Regions from separate parts of the Homo sapiens genome. Here regions 1 and 2 are each linked to region 3. The links are contacts of gene promoters, found by promoter capture Hi-C in human tissues and cell types (Jung and others, 2019). All regions are on one chromosome and are shown on one strand. The core of a region is centred on a gene start or on the middle of the fragment in contact, and the rest is flanking DNA. Distances in the headings are between cores, read along the strand shown. Region 1 holds the start of FAM83C (family with sequence similarity 83 member C). Region 2 overlaps UQCC1 (ubiquinol-cytochrome c reductase complex assembly factor 1). Region 3 holds the start of ERGIC3 (ERGIC and golgi 3).

The links. Contacts are between HindIII fragments. The study calls those that stand out against the background at their distance.
Region 1: a contact is called between the fragment with the promoter of FAM83C here and the fragment with the promoter of ERGIC3 in region 3, in 1 of the 25 tissues and cell types used here (mesenchymal stem cells).
Region 2: a fragment that was not itself captured here is called in contact with the fragment with the promoter of ERGIC3 in region 3 in 2 of the 25 tissues and cell types used here (dorsolateral prefrontal cortex and spleen).

Annotation. Positions count from the first base shown.
Region 1 is chr20:35,290,204-35,294,482 of GRCh38, reverse strand. It overlaps FAM83C (family with sequence similarity 83 member C), which reads left to right and starts at 2,058. Exons shown (of 4, transcript NM_178468.6): 1 at 2,058-2,691. The coding sequence starts at 2,179. The HindIII fragment of the contact is 12,597 bases long and covers 1-3,656 here.
Region 2 is chr20:35,318,408-35,322,880 of GRCh38, reverse strand. The region is part of intron 7 of UQCC1 (ubiquinol-cytochrome c reductase complex assembly factor 1); the gene reads left to right. Among named protein-coding and RNA genes, the nearest start is that of FAM83C, 28 kb to the right of the region's middle. The HindIII fragment of the contact is 3,522 bases long and covers 1-3,392 here.
Region 3 is chr20:35,539,371-35,543,466 of GRCh38, reverse strand. It overlaps ERGIC3 (ERGIC and golgi 3), which reads right to left and starts at 1,389. Exons shown (of 13, transcript NM_015966.3): 1 at 1,282-1,389; 2 at 1,074-1,144; 3 at 867-954; 4 at 526-645. The coding sequence starts at 1,369. RefSeq lists an enhancer at 1,628-1,717. The HindIII fragment of the contact is 35,337 bases long and covers 1-4,096 here.

The sequences.
Region 1 (4,279 bases), core at 809-3,308, 250 kb after region 3:
GGTCTGGCTTTGTTTACTCAACCTTCTGCCCCTCTTGCAGCCTCCTCACCCCCATGGAAGGGCCTCCTTGGAGTGCCCGGTGCTCCTGCACCTGGGATGGGATGGAGTAGGCCATAACTCCTGACCTGTGGCTCCCCCATGCTCCCCCAGGCCCTTCACTTATAGGGTCCTTGAAGACACAGCCCTAGCCCCATTCACCTTTGGTCCTAGGGCTCAGCTCAACTCCGGAACCTCTAAATCCCACCCAGCTCCCTCCCACTATATGTGTGTCAAGTTCTTTGGACACAGAAGACCCTGTGTTCCGGACATGATCGCAGACCAGATAAACCAAGTGCGCTTAGTGCTAAACAGGCTGCGAGGCACGGCTTTAGGTCTTCTGCGCTTCCCGCCATCCTCGCTGGACCTCATGCCTCCGTGGAAAGGTGGTGACCGCTTCTGCCTAGCCTGGCTCCCCAGCTGCAGCTGTCACCTGCTCACCCCCTTCCCCAGAGCAAAGCTGCTCACCATCCTCCGAAGGACACACGGTACATGCTCCAGGACTTTAATCTTTGTTGGGGCAGAGGTCAGAAATCTACCTGCCCTGTTTGCCTCCTGACCTTGCAGTGTGTCCGCCCATTCTCTGAAACAACCTTCCAACCATTTTCATACTCAGCCCTGGAGGAGGGGAAGAAGGCTGGGGTCTGGCCACCACCAGGCCAAGAACATCCCTGGAGTTAAGGGTGTTGCAAGCACAGCCATCTGGAACAGCATGTCTCAGGGGTGGGCCTTAGCCCACTGCCCACAGTGCACTGGGCACTTGTTTAAAAACTCAGGAATTTGAGGTTACAGTAAGCTATGATCACATCACTGCTCTCTCTAGCCTGGGTGACAGAGCAAGATCATGTCTCAATTAAAAAAGAAAAATGGCCAGGTGTGGCGGCTCACACCTGTAATCCCAGCACTTTGGGAGGCTGAGACAGGAGGATTGCTTGAGGCCAGGAGTTCAAGATCAGCCTGGGCAACATAGTGAGATCCCATCTCTAAAAAAATTTTAAAAGTAGCCGAGCATGGTAACATGCACCTGTAATCCCAGCTACTCAGGAGGCTGAGGTGGGAAGATCGCTCGAGTCCAGAGAAACTGAGGCACAGCTGTAGTGAGCTGTGATTGCGCCACTGCCCTCCAGACTGGGTGACAGAGCAAGACCCTATCTCAAAAAGAAAAAGAAAAAAGACAAGCTCCAGAAGCCTACGGACACCTTCTGGATGAGAATTTCCAGGAGGGTGGGGCCCGGGGATCTGCATTTCATCACCTCTCACCACCCCTGGGGTCAGGGTGAGAGCCACTGCTCTAGGTTCTTGAAGGACAGCTCCGAGCCGGGGTGGGAGAGAGCCAGGGGGCTGTGAGCACCACAGTTAAGATGATGGAGAGTGGCAGGACGATTATGGGAGCAAAAAGAGGGCTGGCTGGGGGACAGACCAGCGTTGATGTCCTTGGATATTCCATGTGACAGTCGTTCAGCTCTCAGGGCCTTGCAGACTTGAGCCAGGGCACGTGCTATCCACTGTGGTATGTGTTGTGGGGGTCATGGCCGGTCTCTACATCGGCGTTTGGGTGAAGAGTTTATGCAAGTGGATGTGATTACAATGTGTGGTCGGTCTGTGTCAGCCCACACTCCATGTCTGTGTATCGGTCAGTTGTCAGTGTGTCCATCTGCATGGGTGTTCATGTCTTTTCCTGGGTGTCTTGAGTCGCTCACCCACCTGCAGTGTGTGTGCGTGTGCGTGTGAGTGTGTGTTCCTGAGTCGCCTGGGCCCCTCTTGGCTGTAATTCAACCTCTGTGGGTCCCGGGAAGTCAGCATTTGGAGACTTGCTGGGAGCCTGGTGGGGATGGGGCGGCGTTGCTGGGAGGAAGAGAGGGAGGCAGGAGTGTGCACCGAGGGCCTGGCACTGCCGCTTCCCTGGGCAGGCGAGTCCCAACACAGGCAGACAGGTGGGGCTGACCTGACAGGTTCCAGAGGCCAGGGGCAATAGGGTGGAGCGTGGCTCTGATTTAGGGTGGCAACAGTTTGGGGGCCCTGCCACACACACAGCGAGCGGGCGGGCAGAAGGCGGTTCTGCTGGTCTCCTCTTCCTGCTGCAGCCAGCCCAGCGTGCGGGCCATGGGCCCTGCCGGCGGGTGAGGCAGCCGCGTGGCAGGCATGTTCGGAGGCCCGGGGCCTGGGGTCCTGGGAGCCCAGGGCATGGCGGGACCCCTGCGGGGCCGGGTGGAAGAGCTGAAGCTGCCGTGGTGGCGGGAGAGCTCACCGCTGGTGCTGCGGCACAGCGAGGCGGCTCGGCTGGCGGCCGACGCCCTCCTGGAGCGGGGTGAGGCTGCCTACCTGCGGGTCATCTCCGAGGAGCGGGAGCTGCCCTTCCTGAGCGCCCTGGATGTGGACTACATGACCAGCCATGTGCGCGGGGGCCCTGAGCTCAGCGAGGCTCAGGGGCAGGAGGCCTCCGGGCCAGACCGCCTCAGCCTGCTCTCTGAAGTCACCTCAGGGACTTACTTCCCCATGGCCTCTGACATAGACCCCCCAGACCTGGACCTGGGCTGGCCCGAGGTGCCACAGGCCACAGGCTTCAGCCCCACCCAGGCTGTGGTCCACTTCCAGAGGGACAAGGCCAAGAACATCAAGGACCTGCTGCGCTTCCTTTTCAGCCAGGCCCACACGGTAAGGGCCTCATCTCTCCATCACTCATCTCACAGAGGAGGAAACTGAGGTCCAGAGAGGGAAGGGACCAGCCCAAGGCCACACAGCGACTTAGGGGCAGAATGAGGACCAGCACCTCTGGCACTATTAGATTGCAAACTCCTAGAAGGGGGACATCCCATATTTACCTTGGCAACTGCTTGGTACCCAGGAATAGTATGGATGAGCATAGAACAGGGCATGGGTGTCAGGGACTCCACAATCCCCTGAAATGCACACGAAGTGGTGCAGGTTGGAGGGAGGAGTCCTCGCTGCATCTTTACCTTGGAAGATGCTCCACTGCCTTAAATCAGATTCTCAAAAAGTTTTATGATCCCCACACTAAGAACTCCAACCTTGGGGAACATCTGAGTCACCTCCTTCACTTATAGAAGAAGAAACTGAGGCCAGAGAGGGGCTTGGGACTTGCCCAGGGAGGTCCATATGGTGACATAGAGCTCAGGGCTTGGGGAGACAGGGGCTCTCTGACTTGGGTCCTGGGGACCAGTCCGGCCCTCCTTGCTGGCTCAGGTCCCTAGTTGCCCCCTACCCTCCTGCACCACATCTGCAGCTGGGCCTGAAGCAGGGGAAGGGGCCAGCGTGTGGGCCTCTTTGGCGTGGCCTTGAGGGCTGGGCTTTGGAACCAAGGAGGAAGGAGGAGAGGAGGCTGCTGGGCTCAGTGATGGGGAGCGGGAGCTCAGGAGAAAGAGAATTGGGAGGGCAGGTAGGGGTGGTCAGCACCCAGAAAGGCTCTGGCCACACACGAGCACAGCTTCCCTTCTGAAGCCCTGGCCTCCGACTCCAGGGGAATGGACGAGATGATCCCTGGCAGGGTTTGAGGGAGAGTTAGGCTCCTGCTGCAGAGATGGGAAGCCAGGATGCTGGGATCCCACCGGTACTTCCAGAGCCTCCCTGGCAAGCCTTCCTGTGCCCCAGGCAGGGGACGGCCAGGCCTGATTGGCATCAGGAATGGGGTTATTAGTGAGGCTGCTGCTGTCGTCCTCCTCACCCCTGCCTCTTTGATCTTCCTGCCTGTCCTTGTTCCCCCACCCTGGCCAGGCCTGTGCTGTGAACTAGGGCATCCCCCAGTGCCTCGCCTTCTCAGCCCCCATTTAGACCCCTCTATCCTGGGTCAGGAGCCAGGTTCGTGCACTGGGCTGTCATGACTCCTAGTGACCTTGGGAAATGCTGCGTTGCCCTGCAGCCCAATGTTTATAGAGCTCTGTTATGTCTTGAGCATTTTCACATTTAATTCCCTGTAACTCTGAGACATGGCTATCATTATCTCCATTTAACAGATGAGGAAGGTGAGGCTTCCAGAGGTGAAGGGACTCACCCAAAGCTGTGTCACCAGGAAGTGATAGAGTCCAGGTTTGAACCCAGTTCTTTCTGACTCCAGAGCTGGAGTGCTATGCTCTGTACCTCCTGCCTCTCGGCCCTGCCTGGGAGAGAAGACTCTCATAGCAGATATATGCCATGGGAAGAAAGGCCAGCTGGGGGCTGGGAGGTGCCAAGAAGGTTTCAGGGGCCTCTTTGAGGCAGCCCTTTATATGGGATGGAGGCACAAGCC
Region 2 (4,473 bases), core at 382-2,881, 220 kb after region 3:
GCAAGACTCCGTCTCAAAAAAAAGAAAAGACAGTAGATTTAGAGACTGACCATCTGAGTTAAAAGTCCCAGCACTGTCACTTACAAGCAGGATGTGATTTGACTACAAGTGACTTAACGTTTTTGTTTTTGTTTTTGTTTTTGTTTTTTGAGACAGAGTCTTGCTCAGTTGCCAGGCTGGAGTGCAGTGGCACAATCTTGGCTCACTGCAACTTCTGCCTCTCGGGTTCAATGGTTCCCCCGCCTCAGCCTCCTGAGTAGCTGGGACTACAGGTATGCGCCACTATGCCCAGCTAATTTTTTGTATTTTAGTAGACATGGGGTTTCACTATGTTGGCCAGGCTGGTCTCGAACTCCCGACCTCAGGTTATCGGCCCACCTCAGCCTCCCAGAGTGCTGAGATTACAGGCGTGAGCCACCGCACCTGGCCACTTAACAGTTTTGAGCTTCTGTTTCCTTGTTTATAGAATCAGGACAACAATAGCATTTTGGCTGTGAGCTCCTCGAGGGCAGGGTTGTGGTTGTGAGGCACAAATAAGATAATAAAATGAAAATATTATTAAATGCATTGTGTAATCATTGTTACGACCATCACTGTCATCATTATTATCAGTACGGATTTTAGATAGTACCCAGGATTATTTCCTTTAGGACTCCGCACCATCAGTGCTGTTGTTGAAACTGCGACTCTTTCAAGCCAGGTGTTGGCTTCTCTAATGAGTATGCATGAGACTTGTCATGTGGAATACTACAAAAAGCTTCCAGAAACCAAAGTAGATTATAGCTATAATGTTCCCCTTATTCAAATGCCCTAAAAGAGACGAAAGTTAAATTGCCATGGTAGTTTGATCATCCCAGAACCGTAGTGTACCTCATCAGCTCCTTTTGAAGATGATTGTGGACTTAATATTATGTGTTCTCATGTTTTCTCAACTGGACAAATGACTAGAATTTCTGAGGACATACATCTCTTCTCTCTTGGCTATTTTCCAAGCCTGAGGGAAGGACTCCTGTACTTCGTGACTATATAGAAATTAGGGCTGCTGGTTCTGCAATTCTGTCTGCCAACCATGTCCCTTGTTTTTCAGCACATTATCAGGCTATGCAGTCTTGAACATGTAGATCCCAAGCAGCAAAACTAGAATTTTCAAAATAAATAAGAAAGGGGTTTGTATTATTATTACTATGTTGTAGAGACAGGACCTCACTTTTTTGTCCAGGCTAGTCTTGAACTCCTGGCCTCAAGTGATCCACCTGCCTTGGCCTCACAAAGCATGGGGATTATACACGTAAGCCACCTTGCCCAGCCAATAAGGGAATATTTTTAAACAGCATGTCATCATAGCAAGCTTCCCTTGTACATTAAAAGTTTGAAATGTTTAAAATGGATTTTAAAATGGACCTCCTCATGCTGGGTTTAGGTTGGCCTTTCATCGCAACGGGAACATACTCTATTTAAATGTTCACATTATTTTCTAAAAAGAGAAAAAGAAATTGTCTTTCATTTAAAATATTTTTCTTTTTATTCTTGGTATTAACAACTTTTTCTGGAACTGCTCAATATGCATGCGTGCCTGAGCGTGCGCGCGCGCGCGCGCACACACACACACACACACACACACACACACAGTTTTGTTTGTATTTTGTCATCATTGCTAAAAGACCCTCAATAGATCTTTCAGTCGTAATGCATGTGAGTTAACAGGTAGACTTTTTTATTTGGTCTCTCCATGTCCCCCGTCTCTCTTGTCTGTCTACTCTTACTCTGTTTCTAAGTATCTCACAAAATATTCCACAGTGGGCTAATTTCTAACCTGAACTTTAAATAGGCTAGCTGATGTTCAGTGCACATCAGCCTGTTGCCGCACAATGACTGTAGAACATGGCGTTGGCACTGCAAAGCATTGGTGGTGGCATTACTGTCTACTACAGCAAACTAAAACATGACCTACAATCTTGTGTTGCATTGTTGCCTTATGATGAATTTGATATAGTCCTTAGGCTTCAGCCAGCAACTCTAGCTGTCCTTTGTCATTCATTCATTCCAGCAAATTCTTAGTCTGCTACTGTTAGCAACTTTGCTTCAAGCCAGTAACCTTAAAGCTTATTCTCACCTTCATGCTCATCAGTGTTTTCCATACCAACTTTCTTCTGTTTTCCCATTCCCCCACCATAATTACACCCACTCTCAACCTCAGGTTTTCCCAGGAGTGGAGCTTGGCTCTACTAGGGATATCTGATGTATTAGTAACCGGCCACTGATGACCCATCTGGTGGCTGTCTCTAGCTGCCACTGGAACTGGAATCTCTGAGTTGTGTTTACTCAAGACCACATTAGCATTTCTTAGTTCTGCCTCTGCAGATAGCCTGAGCTGTGGGGCACAGGAAGGGGCAGCTACATTCCTTCCAGTGTCTATTCCAACACAGGTAGGCAATGGAGTTGGATTGCTCTGTATTCTTATCTTGACCCCACTATTTCCTAGCTGTCTAGCTTTAACTTTCCCAAACATCAGATTCCTCTTCTCTAAAGTGGAGACAGTAACAGTTCCTGTCTCTTAGAGTCCTTGGGAAGGTTTAAGTGGGCTAATGTGTAAAGTTGTAGCACAGTTATTGGCACTTGGTAAATAATGAATGATGGGACCCGTCTCCAGACTTGAATCACTTTGGGGCACCTGTAGATGGGGGAGAGGGCAGACTTAGTAGAGAAAATATGTGTGCTAAGTCTTAGAGGATAAGGAGTTAGCATCCCTTCCATCAGTGGATAAAGAAGAGAAGAATTCCTGGCAGCAGTATGACTAAGAAATAGATGACAGCATGATGTATCTGTGCACATACTTTACTGACTGCAGGGTGAAGTAAGATGGGGAGGCAAGAGGAGGGGAGGCAAAAAAGATGGCCAAGAGCAGATCACTAGAAGCCTTGTAGAGTCCATGGAGGAGTTAAAACTTGATCTCCCATCAGTCCCTGTATCCACATAGTCTGGTTCCTCTGTTAAGCAGTCACATAAATATCTTTAAGGCAGCAACAGTGAAAAGGGGAAAGAGAGCAGCGAATTGGCCTCAAATGAACTGGCATCTCTTTAAAGCTAATATTCCTCCTTGAGAATGCTACTTTAATTAAACATGTGCCCTGCAAGATTCATTATTGCCTTACTTGTGTTCTCTGTTGGTTGTCTCATTCATTAATCTGCCGATTAGTAACCCTGAACTCTTGCATCCCTTCCTTTTTTTTGCATTCCCTTTTTAATATACTATGCTGTTTCCCCTGGGACATAAACTCCAGGACCCGTCCCTGGCCTGCTCGTGTTTGTTTTCTTTGCCCCTTGTGCCTGCCTCTGCTATAATATTTGTAGTATGTGTTAAGTAATCCTTAAGGTAACATTTTTATTATGTCATAAAAAGTGCATGGCAAATATATTATAACTCATGGACTTTGTTTAAAAATGAACGGATAATTTATTGAGTGTGTTACATGAGCCTCACTCCCCTCCCCATTTCAGCTGAGACCTGCTGCTCATTTAGCCAAGCCTCCTATTGAGTGCTCCCTCCCTGTGACATGCTGGGAAAGCAGGCCTGTGGTTGGCTAGAGGTGACATCATAGTTTATGTACTCAATAAAAATTTAATTAAGTCATTACAGGAATTGCAGTCATCATTTAACCCTCTGATTTCTTCTGTTTAGTTTATTATTAAACATTCAGTAATACCAGTCACTGAATCCTGGTGGCTTATAAAATATCTGCATGAATTTTAATGGCTTAAATAAATGGGAAAATATGAGTAACTGATATAAAAGGAACCTTTTCCTTGTGGTGTTGTATGTATGGGTTTTTATGAAAAGCAAAGCATTATGGAAAGGATGAGTTTAATAAGAGAACGGCCCAACACTATCTGGGAGGAGTTTCTCTTCTGCTGGGTGCAGCTGTGTAGTCATGGGCAGAGTGCTCCATATAGAATGATCTGGCAGTGGAGAGGTGGGGAACCTGCACACCAGCAACCAAAAACTTAAATGAGGGAATAAAATCCAACAGGGATTCACCAGAGCGAATATCCTGCTCCCCTTGGCTGCTGGACTAGCTAGAAGGGCCCTGCCGAGTGAGTCCGGTAGTTGAGGAAGGTGCTGTCACTTGCCCTCACCTGTTGCCTGCAGATCACGTGTCTGTACTGATCTCACTTCCACCCTCTTCCAGGAAGGCCCCTTTTCATGATCTAATCCAGCCTGGGTGATGATATCTGAAAAGCATTTCTAGCTGTGGCAGTTTGCCATTGTCTCAGCTAGAGGTGAAGGGAGAGGCAGCTTACAGGTCACTGGAGTTAGAATATAGGACCAGGAAGTCAAGGAGCCTTGCTAGTAAGGAACTCTACTCTTGCACTCCGTTTTTCCTGGGCAGTAGCCAACCAGAATGCAGGTGTATCCCAAGAGGAGAAAATGTGTTTGTATGTTTGTGGGCCTTGCTGGAAAGCAAGAACTGAGGT
Region 3 (4,096 bases), core at 140-2,639:
TGATCTTACAATTCCATGTGGTTGGTACTACTGTTTTATTACCACTTTCTAGCTGAAGCTCACAGACTGCAGGAGACAAAGCTAGATGTGAACCCAGGCAATCTGACTTGAGAACCTAAATTCTCATTAAACCACCTGCATTCCAAAGGGGAAGAGCATTAAGGGCTGAATTAAGCCAATGGGCTGGGAAAGCAAACACTCAAAGAAGCCTGGGTCCATCTAGACAGTTCTACCAAGGCAAGAGCACATAAGACCTATCTTCAAACCTCTGGTATTCAAACTACCATCTGCAGGTATTGAGGACCTCTGAGAATAATAGCCAGGTAGATTACCTGACTCGATATGTATAGAGGATTTTAGCTCACTCTGACTCTTACTAGCTGGGGGACCCTAGGCAAGTCACTTGACTTCTCTAGCTCTTAGTTGTTTAATGTATCACTATGCCTGCCACAGTTCACTTGCTAGCAGATAGGCTTGGGTACATCCAGCTTTGGGATCTGAGACCCGGCCCCCTCCCCTGGTTACCATGCCGCTCAGCCTCTGAGCTCACGGGGATGCCATCTTTATCTAGTCGTTGCTTGAACAGGTTGTGTTCCACATCCAGCTGCTGTTCTCCGGCCACATCCATGGCATCAATACTCAGATCTGGAAGCAGGAAAATCAGGCTAAGGTACTGGGACCCTAGGGACAAGGGGATGTGGGTTTTGGAGGGGAAGGGGATACTGGGCCTGTCTTGGGGCAGAACGGGATGAGGAGAAGGAGGTTGTCCTGGGGTCCAGTCCAGAACCTAAGGGTGGAGGTGTGAATCTGGCAGCCCACATGAGAACCCTGGGTCTCTCCAGTCCCACCCATGGTGAGGTACTCACAGGCACAAGGCATGTGCGGAAAAAGTACATCGATGTTGATCTTCAGTTTATCTCCCCGCGACTTGTCCACGTAGAGCTCAGGATGCACCTGGGGCAGCGCTACCTCAGTAAGACTTAGCCCCAAACCTCTCCTTCCCCACTCCCACCCCTAAAGGTCCTACTCCTAGAATGCCAAGCCCCGCCCACGCACTAAGCCCCGCCCCTTACCTCCGTGGTGAGGTAATACTGCAGCTCGGACAGGAACAGTAGCAGCATGAGAAGGCCACTGACAATGGTCACTGCAGGACAAGGGGCGAGGGTCAGAATGGCCTCGAATCCGCTCCCTCAGACACCGGCAGGCCAGTCAGAGTCCAGGAGCCCGGGCTAAGCTCTAGGACGCCCCCCTCCACGCGACCCCGGCCCCGCTGCGGCCTACCGGTGGCGCCCCCGCAGGTCTTGACCCGGAAGTCCTCCAAAGTCTTGGGGTAGGCATCGAACTGCTTCAGCTTCCCCAGCGCCTCCATGGGGACCGGCCGGAAAGGGGACGCCAGCCGGCCCGCCCCTACAGACTCCCTCTTCCGGCCTGGAGCCACGCCCCCCTCTTTTTCCTCACGCAGGCGCAGCAAACCGCACGCTTGGCCCCACCTTTAGCCGCGTTCTCTTACAGGCGGCCCCGCCCAACGATGCTGCCACGCCCCCTTGCGCGGGCAATTGGGTCTGGAAGCTACTGCCCCGGCCTCCGCTGTCCGGGGCGGGATTTTGAGGACTGGGGTGCGAGGAGTTCTCTGCGGGGTTAGAAACGCTAATAGCACCGTTCGTGTGCCTTGTGCTCGGAACTGCACCAGGTGTTTAAGACTCTTGGAACATCTTGGAATATCCTGGAACAGTGGTTTTTCGAGTGTACCGGACCGGCCGCATCATTATCAACTGATTACCTATTAGAAATGCAAATAATTGATTCCCACCTACTGAAGCCGAAACGCTAGGAATGGCATCGGATGATTCTGATGTAAAGTAAGGGTGTCCGCCCTGAAAGCAGGTGTGACTTATCTCCGTTTTCCAAAGAGCAAACTGTGACCTGGAGAAGTTAAATAACTTGCCCAAGATCACAGCCAATTAATAGCAGGACCTGCTTCCAGCCCAGTTCTTCTGGACCTCAAAGTACTCTGGGAATCAGGGTCTTTTGGGTTGATTTTACCTAAACAGCGTCCCAGTGCTTCTCCTGAGCGCTGCTTTCTGAATATTACCCTAAATTGCTCTCCAGGCCCTGGGATCCTCACGGACACGCTCTATCCCTCCAGGTTTAGACTCAAGTGATATGGAGCTTAAGCTCTCCCTGACACTTCCCATTGCAGCCCAGTGTCTCTAGAGGGACAGCTCCCACAGTAATGCAGCTGCAATGAGTAAGATATAAAAGCTCATAGGCTTTCATACAGGAATTCCACTTTAGGAAGTAAAAGCACCATGTCAAGGTTAATAGAAAAATTTTGAAAAAGAAAAAATATGTAAGCAGCTATCCAAGGTTAACAGAAAAAAATTTTAATATAAGGATAAAAGTACCATGATCTGGGTGGTTGTTACACCTTAAGATATTGAATCTGTCTCTTAAAGATTTTAAGTGCACCACATCATAAAGATGTATGCATGAGATTGTTCAATGGCAAAAATCTGGAACCAGCCAGAATGCCCACTGATACATTAAATAAATTGAATAAATCACGATACACCCATTCTATGGAATATTAGGCCACTTTTCAAAAGAATGAGGTAGATTTACTCCTTTAGGTATACTAAGAATGTATTTTTAAGGGGGAAAAGATGCAAAGTAATGTGCATTCCATCATTCCATTTTTTAATTAAAAATTGGGCTGGGCACAATGGCTCACACCTGTAATCACAGCACTTTGGGAGACCGAGGAGGATCACATGAGGCCAGGAGTCTAAGACCAGCCTGGGCAACACAGCAAGACCCCACTCTACAAAAACTTTAAAAACTACATCTGTAACCCTAGCACTTCAGGAGGCCGAGCCAGGAAGCATCACTTGAGTTCAGGAGTTTGAGACCAGCCTGGTCAACATGGTGAAACCCCATCTCTACTAAAAATACAAAAATTAGCCAGGCGTGGTAGTGTGCTCCTGTAAACCCAGCTACTTGTGAGTCCGAGGCAGGAGAATCGCTTGAACCTGGGAGGCGGAGGTTGCAGTGAGCCGAGATCATGCCATTGCATTCCAGCCTGGGCGACAGAGTGAGATTCTGTCTCCAAAAATAAAAATAAAAATAAAAAAATTAGCCAGGTGTGGTGGCATGCGTCTATAGTCTCAGCTACCTGGGAGGCTGGGGTTGAGCCCAGGAGAGTTTGAAACTGCAGTTGTTACCAGGTTACCTGCAGTTGTTACCAGCATAGAGTTGTCCAGGTTCTTGGCGTGTTGAACAAAACACATAAAGTAACAGAAGGGCAACGAAAGACAAACAGCAACAGAAGAACGGAATAACAAAAGCATAGATTTATTGAAGACGATTCATAGCGGCAGCTGGTTAGAGCAAGCTGCTCAAGAGCCTCCTCAATCAGGGTTTGTATTAAGCTAAAGGGACCTGGCAACACCCCTAGGTGCCCTTTAGAAGCCTCCAGTTGGCTACACCTATGAAGGATTGGCCTGCGACCAAATCAGAGGCTGAAGTGGAGACTTGGCCCACAGCCAATCAGAGGCTGAAGTGGAGATTTGGCCCCACGGTCAATCGGAGGCGGAAGTGGAAACTTCTGTCTCGTTATCATAGGATTGAAGATGTGGCCTGTATGCTGCCTAGAACTGGCTGCACCCCTTCATTTGCTTATGTCTTAACCCCCGGTTACCCTGATTCCCTGTTCTCCTGCCTCATAGTGAGCTGTGATTACACCACTGCACTACAGCCTGGGCGACAGAGCGAGTCTCTCTCTCTCTCTTTGTGTGTGTGCATATATATATATATAATATATATAAACTGTTATATATATTATATATATAAACTTATATATATTATATATATAAACTGTTATATATTTTATATATATAAACTGTTATATATATTATATATATAAACTGTTATATATATTATATATATAAACTGTTATATATATTATATATATAAACTGTTATATATATTATATATAAACATATATATAAACTTATATATATTATATATAAACTTATATATATTATATATATAAACTGTTATATATAAACTTATATATATTATATATAAACTGTTATAT